2 separate regions of the Homo sapiens genome follow, and region 1 is linked to region 2. Evidence: promoter capture Hi-C in human tissues and cell types (Jung and others, 2019). All regions are on one chromosome and are shown on one strand. Each heading gives the region's core, a stretch centred on a gene start or on the middle of the fragment in contact. The rest is flanking DNA. Distances are from core to core; before and after follow the strand shown. Region 1 overlaps BTBD7 (BTB domain containing 7). Region 2 holds the start of UBR7 (ubiquitin protein ligase E3 component n-recognin 7).

What was found. The method cuts DNA at HindIII sites, captures the fragments that hold promoters and counts their contacts. A contact is called where the count stands out against the background at its distance.
Region 1: a contact is called between a fragment that was not itself captured here and the fragment with the promoter of UBR7 in region 2, in 2 of the 25 tissues and cell types used here (hippocampus and liver).

What each region holds. Positions count from the first base shown.
Region 1 is chr14:93,303,645-93,306,799 of GRCh38, forward strand. All of the region lies in intron 1 of BTBD7 (BTB domain containing 7), which reads right to left. Among named protein-coding and RNA genes, the nearest start is that of BTBD7, 28 kb to the right of the region's middle. The HindIII fragment of the contact is 5,621 bases long and covers 1-3,155 here.
Region 2 is chr14:93,205,877-93,208,932 of GRCh38, forward strand. UBR7 (ubiquitin protein ligase E3 component n-recognin 7) reads left to right here and starts at 1,380. Exons shown (of 11, transcript NM_175748.4): 1 at 1,380-1,565. The coding sequence starts at 1,416. GON7 (GON7 subunit of KEOPS complex) reads right to left here and starts at 1,189. Exons shown (of 2, transcript NM_032490.5): 1 at 954-1,189. The coding sequence starts at 1,161. RefSeq lists an enhancer at 426-1,285. The HindIII fragment of the contact is 21,573 bases long and covers 1-3,056 here.

The DNA of each region.
Region 1 (3,155 bases), core at 52-2,551, 98 kb after region 2:
ATTCCTGGAAAGTGGTGCGTTAAGAATGAATGTGGCTGCACTGTGAAGACACAAATGGGCCTCTCCTACTCTGCCACCTTTACCCTCAGAGCTCACACTCCAAATGCTTCATCCTGACCTACAACCTCAGAAGAAGATCCTCTTGAAGCAACAGATGGAAAATGGGAATTAGAGGGCTGAAACGGCCTCCCCACCCCCCACCAGAGGAAGGCCTGACTCTAGGACAATGGGAGTCGCTTATTCCTCTTATCTGGTCTTTGGCAGAGGGCCTGAGCAGTGATGCCTACAGCAGCCAGTGCAGGAGCTGCCTTGGCCTGGACATCCCCAAAAGTTTTGATGTCTTCTAGCAGCTAGAATCCCCCAAAACTGAAGTAGCTCTGGAAGGAGCCTGAAAAGTCTTCCCCAAAAGTCAGGAAAAAGAGCCTATAAGCAGAGGGTGAAAAATTATTATGAGGCCCTGCAAGACAGACTGCAGAACTTGCCCAATCAACTCTCATAAGGTGATGGGGCCTGCCATTTGGAGCCTCTGTGTTTACGATATGGAAAACTAGCACTGAGCCCGGCACACAATATTTTATTGAATAAAGGAAATGATTGTTCTAATCAGGGACAACTGTTTTTATTGTTGGCTTGAGAGTGTACAGAAAGATGGTTCACTCTAGATTTAGAGATGGTGATAAAAATGAGTCTAGATTTGAGTTTATTATTTATTTATTTTTATTTTTGAGACGGAGTCTCGTGCTGTCGCCCAGGCTGGAGTGCAGTGGCGCAATCTTGGCTCACTGCAACCTCTGCCATCCAGGTTCGAGCGATTCTCCTGCCTCAGCCTCCCGAGTAGCTGGGATTACAGGCGTGCATCCCTACACCTGGCTAATTTTTGTATTTTTAGTAGAGATGAGGTTTCACCATGTTGGCCAGGCTGGTCTCAAACTCCTGACCTCAGGTGATCTGCCGGCCTCGTCTTCCCAGAGTGTTGGGATTACAGGCGTGAGCCACCGTGCCCGGCCTAGATTTGAGTTTAAAGAGGACTTGCAGAGAGAAATAGAACTGACATCAGAGAATACATTCAAATCAACTGAATTTAAAGGGAAAAAATGCAATTTCTCCTAAATTCCATTCAAAGCCAAAACATTCAGATTTTCTGACACCAACTTAGCAAATGTTTAAAATACAAGGGTATACTTCTTATTGATAAGTTACCATGGGTTCCACTAGTAGAGCTGGAGAGATAAGCAAACATGCTGGGTGAACCCTAGAGTAAGCCTGAGACTATGGCTGCACAGACAGAAGAGAACACAGAACAAAACAGAAACTCAAAGGTTTCCTCATCCAGGGCAGTCTTCATGAAGACAGTTCAAATTCCAAACTGTTAGATCATTAAAGGAATAGGCATGTGACTAGCCCTATGAATTATTCAAATTCTTATAAATAAGAAGACAATAATGGCTTAGCAGTTGAGGTAATTACATAGTAAAATTCTATTTTTCTTCACATTACGGAGACTGAGTCTAAATAAATATGAGGGTGGGGGACCCATTACTTTAAATTTTCAGTGAAAAAGTTACAAGTCATATATAATGGCTTAATACTGGCTAGTCACTCCATTCTGATGAGCTCCTGCCCATCAGAATATTTGCTATTTAAAGAATCTTTGTTGGCATGTTAAGTGAAAAATGTGTTCCTCCTAAGTTTCTTCTGAAGTCTACACTTAGAGTCTTGTATATAGTGGTCCTTGTAAAAGAAGCACTAGTGGTTGTGATGATGAACAAGTTTTGAGAACGTTTAGCTATAAAAGACCCTCTCTGTAAGAGACATCAACAAGGTCTCTTATGAAAAACAAGAAGTAGAAAACCAGACAAAACTCTCACTCTCACAAGCATTATTAGAGGGCTTTCTTATAACTATGGTAATTTTTCCTTAATCCCATTGCTTGTTCTGTGCTACCCACTTGTAGCAGAAACACTGGGAGAGGATATTACAGTTTAAGTATGTCAGAATGAAATAGATATTCTTGGCCCTGTTAAGGCAATGAAAGTCTGCATCTTAAAACTCTATTTTCCATTTGTTTAGAAGCTTGTCTTAGTCTGTTTTCTGTTGCCGTAACAGAATATCATAGACTGGGTAATATATAAAAAAATCTATTTCTTACAGTTCTGGAGGGTGGGAGGTCCAAGACCACCCCAATATCTGGTGAGGGCCTTCTTGCTGTGCCCTAACATGGCTGAGGGCACCACATAGCAAGAGGGCAAGAACATGCGTGTCAGCTCAGGTCTCTCTTCCTCTTATAAAGCCACCAGCCCCATTATGGTGGCCCCACCCTGATGATTTTATCTAATCCTAATTACTTTCCAAAGGCCCTACGTTCAACTGACATACAGATTTGGGGATTAAGTTCCCAACACATGCAATGTGGGGAACAGCAAATCATAGTAGACATCTATAATAAAAAATTAAGTAATACATATGAGGTCCTTATCATAGAAGACATAGTGAAGAATGCTCACCAAACTGGTAAGGGGAATGGTGGAGAGGAAGAAGGAAACGATGACTGAGGTTTCTACCTTGCATAACTGGGTGGTTACAATGCTGTAAACCAAGAAGCATATAGGAGAAGCAATTTATGGGTCCACTGAGGGTGATAAAGGTAATGGGTTTGAAATCTGGGAAAGACATATTAAAGAGGCCAGGCACGGTGGCTCACGCCTATAATCCCAGCACTTTGGGAGGCTAAGGAGGATTGCTTGAGGCCAGGAGTTCCAGACTAGCCTGGGCAACAAAACAACCTCATCTCTCTTTAAAAAAAAAAAAAAAAAGACGTTATCAAGGAAGAAACAATTCAAACAGAACATAAAGAAGTCTAAAAACAAAAGTTTTCTAATACTATTAATAATATCTAATTTCTAAAGGTAAAATTCCTTGTATTACAATACAGCATTCTCCCAAGATAATTCATTTACTTTTAAATGAGGATATTATTTACAAATATCTTATCAATGTTTCTAAAAAGATAAATGGAGAGTCTTAAGAAGTAATGGTGCTTATTTCTTGAGGCGCAAAGTTATTTCTGGCATAACTTCACATTACTGCACAGCACCCAGCAAAATATGGGTGATCTCTAACCTCTCTTGAGATCTGAGTCTGAGTGTTCTCCTAAT
Region 2 (3,056 bases), core at 130-2,629:
TCTGTAGTTTCACACCTGATAAAACTCCTTTTTATTCAACACCCAGCTCAAAAGTCTTATCCTTTCTGAAGACTTCCTAGGGTGTCTGGGTTTGCAACAGTTACAGAGGACCACAGAACCACTTTCACTTTTTTTTTCTTTTTTTTTGAGACGGAGTCTCGCTCTGTCGCCCACGATAGAGTGCAGTGGCGCGATCTCGGCTCACTGCACCCTCTGCCTCCAGGGTTCAAGCGATTCTTCTGCCTCAGCCTCCCGAGTAGAGTAGCTGGGACTACAGGAGCATGCCACCACGCCCAGCTAATTTTTGTATTTTTAGTAGAGACAGGGTTTCACCATATTGGCCAGGCTTGTCTCGAACTCCTGACCTCGTGATCTGCCTGCCTCGGTCTCCCAAAGTGCAGGGATTACAGGCGTGAGCCACCAGCCCGGACCACTTCCACTTTTAATAAGAGTGTCTGCCTGTCTAGTCCCCTTGTGTTTCACAAGGGCAGGAACTGAGTCGCATTCACCTCATTCTTCCTCCAGGGCTCAGCTCAGGGTTTGGCACATAATAGTAGGCATTCGACACGTTTTTTTGTGAAATAAACGAAATAGCGATGAGTTGTGGAAACGCTTGAGTAGAAGCAGCCCAAATAAATATAGTGATAAATGCCAACAATTTTTATTTTTTAAATTATTTTAAAAATAATAATAGAAACGGGGTCTCGATATGTTGCCCTGGCTGTTCTGGAACTCCTGACCTCAAGTGATCCTCCTGCCTCGCCCTCCCAAAGTGCTGGGATTACAGGCGTGAGCCCCACTTCGCCTAGCCCGCCAAAAATTTTTAGATGCAATTCTTCTTTCCTCGAGGCTCACTTTGTCCAAGTCTGCCACTCTACACGGGCTCCCCAAGCCAATTTCCCCTGGGCGCCCGCCCCGTCCTCCGGTCACTGCAGCACCGTCTCAGAGCTCACCGTCCAAGTCCTCGTCTGGAGCCGCCGCCACCCGGTGCTGCACTTCCCCCTGTACCAGAGGGTCGAATAATTCCGTTACCATGTCCTTCATCTGGGCCACGCCAGACAACAGGCCCTGGAAAGGGTCGCCGTCACCCGGCGCCTCACAGGACACCCGCAGCTTCTGCGGCTTCCCTTCCTGCCCGACGTACTCTCCCAGCAGCTCCATGGTGACCGCTAAGCTTCCAGAACACGACACCGGGAAGCGCCACCCGGAGGCGGAAATCAGCCCGCGTCCGGCGCAGGCGGGAGAAGGGAGAGGAGTGACATCCGTTTGTCGGAAGTCGCTCCTCCCCCTTCCTTCGCTTTTTTTCCTTGTCATTGGTTCCTGGCACTCGGGCCCCACCTCCTCCGGCTACGCCCCTCACGGCCGCTTTTCCCGCCTCCGCCGGGGCCGAGCCGCTGTTCGGCTGACAGTTGAGGATGGCCGGAGCCGAGGGCGCCGCTGGGCGGCAGTCGGAGCTGGAGCCCGTGGTATCGTTGGTCGACGTCCTTGAGGAGGACGAGGAGCTGGAGAATGAGGCGTGCGCTGTCCTGGGCGGCAGCGACTCCGAGAAGTGCTCCTACTCTCAGGTGGGCGCGCGGCCCGGGCCTCCTCTCCCCCGGCTCCCGCCGAACCTCCCCTTCCCGGCCCGGCTGTCCCTATTCCCGCCTTGCCGCAGTCGTCTCCCCAGTGGTGGTCCGGGGCCGCCGTTAGTCTGCCGCTTCCTCACCCCAAGCTCACCCTTCCCTTTTAACCCCAACCTCCTGGGCCCCCTTCAGCCTGTGTCCAGCAGGGGCCCCCCTCTCCCCTGTCTCCAACTCTGTCCGGCCCGCCAGGAAGGGCCCTGGAGCAGCTGCTCTGTCCGTCCTCTCCAGCCTCTTCTTGGTGCACCACTGCTTTTCACGAAACCACCCCGCGACCTCTCAGATCCAGACATCTTTGTCCCTGATTTTCCCATCCTAAGATTATTTATTTATTTATTTATTAGGGACCGAATGGGAGAGTCAGGTTAAAGAGATTTTCAAATCCATAGGGATTTGCGGTGAGCTCCTTGACAGCTAGTTCCTCTGCAATTTAGTTGGACAAGTGCTAGCTAGTACTTTTTCTTTCTTTCTTTTTTTGGCAAAATGAAGCAAGTACCCATGTCTATCTGCAGTCTGCCCCCCTCCCCTGGAAATAGACCGGAAACAGAACAGCAAGTGGCTCTGGCAAGGGAGGGGAGAGAGGAGAAAAGGATCTGTTTGGCATTTGGAAGACGTTGTGAGTGAGCAAGTGTTTGAGGGGGTGTGATGTGGTGTTTAGTGACTCACCCTACACTTCGAGGTACAAAAATGGAAAAGGATGGGTAGGAAGAAGACTGACAAAGGATGAGAATTGGTAGGAAGAAGGGTTACCTAGGAAGAGGGGTGGATTGGAACACTGGGGAGATGAGGGGAGAGACTTGTATTCATTATGTGGTATGAACTGAGATCATAATACCAGTTCTCGTTGTTGACCAAGGTTAGTTTACACTGCAAAGTGCTAGATTGTTGAATAAACCTGGTATCCAGACATAGCCCCAGGTATTTTAAAACCTTTGGTCACCACTAAAACAATTTTTCCCCTGCTTTACTTAAAAAAAAAAAAAAGAAAAAAGTTATGTCTATATGTAAACTATTTTTGAAGTGTAGTTACCTTTATAAAATGGATTCCTTAATATTTTCTTTGTGGTAAAAAAAAAAATACGGAAATTTGCACAAATCATGTACACAGCTTGAAAGGAAAGTGTGCGTGTTCCCACAACCCAGATCAACAAATAGAACATTAGGAGTGCAAAAGGCTTATTGGAATAGAACTTTAAAAAAAAAAGAAAGAAAAAGAAATAGAACCTTACTGGCATCCCGGAAGCCTCCTTATCTATCTTCCTCCTTCCTAGAGGAAGGTAACTATACCTCTTATACATATTCACTTTTTTTTTCTTTTTGAGATGGAATTTCACTCTTGCCACCCAGGCTGGAGTGCAATGTCATGATCTCTGCTCACTGCAACCTCCACCTCCTGGGTTCAAGTGATTCTCCTGTCTTAGCCTCCCAAGTAGCTGG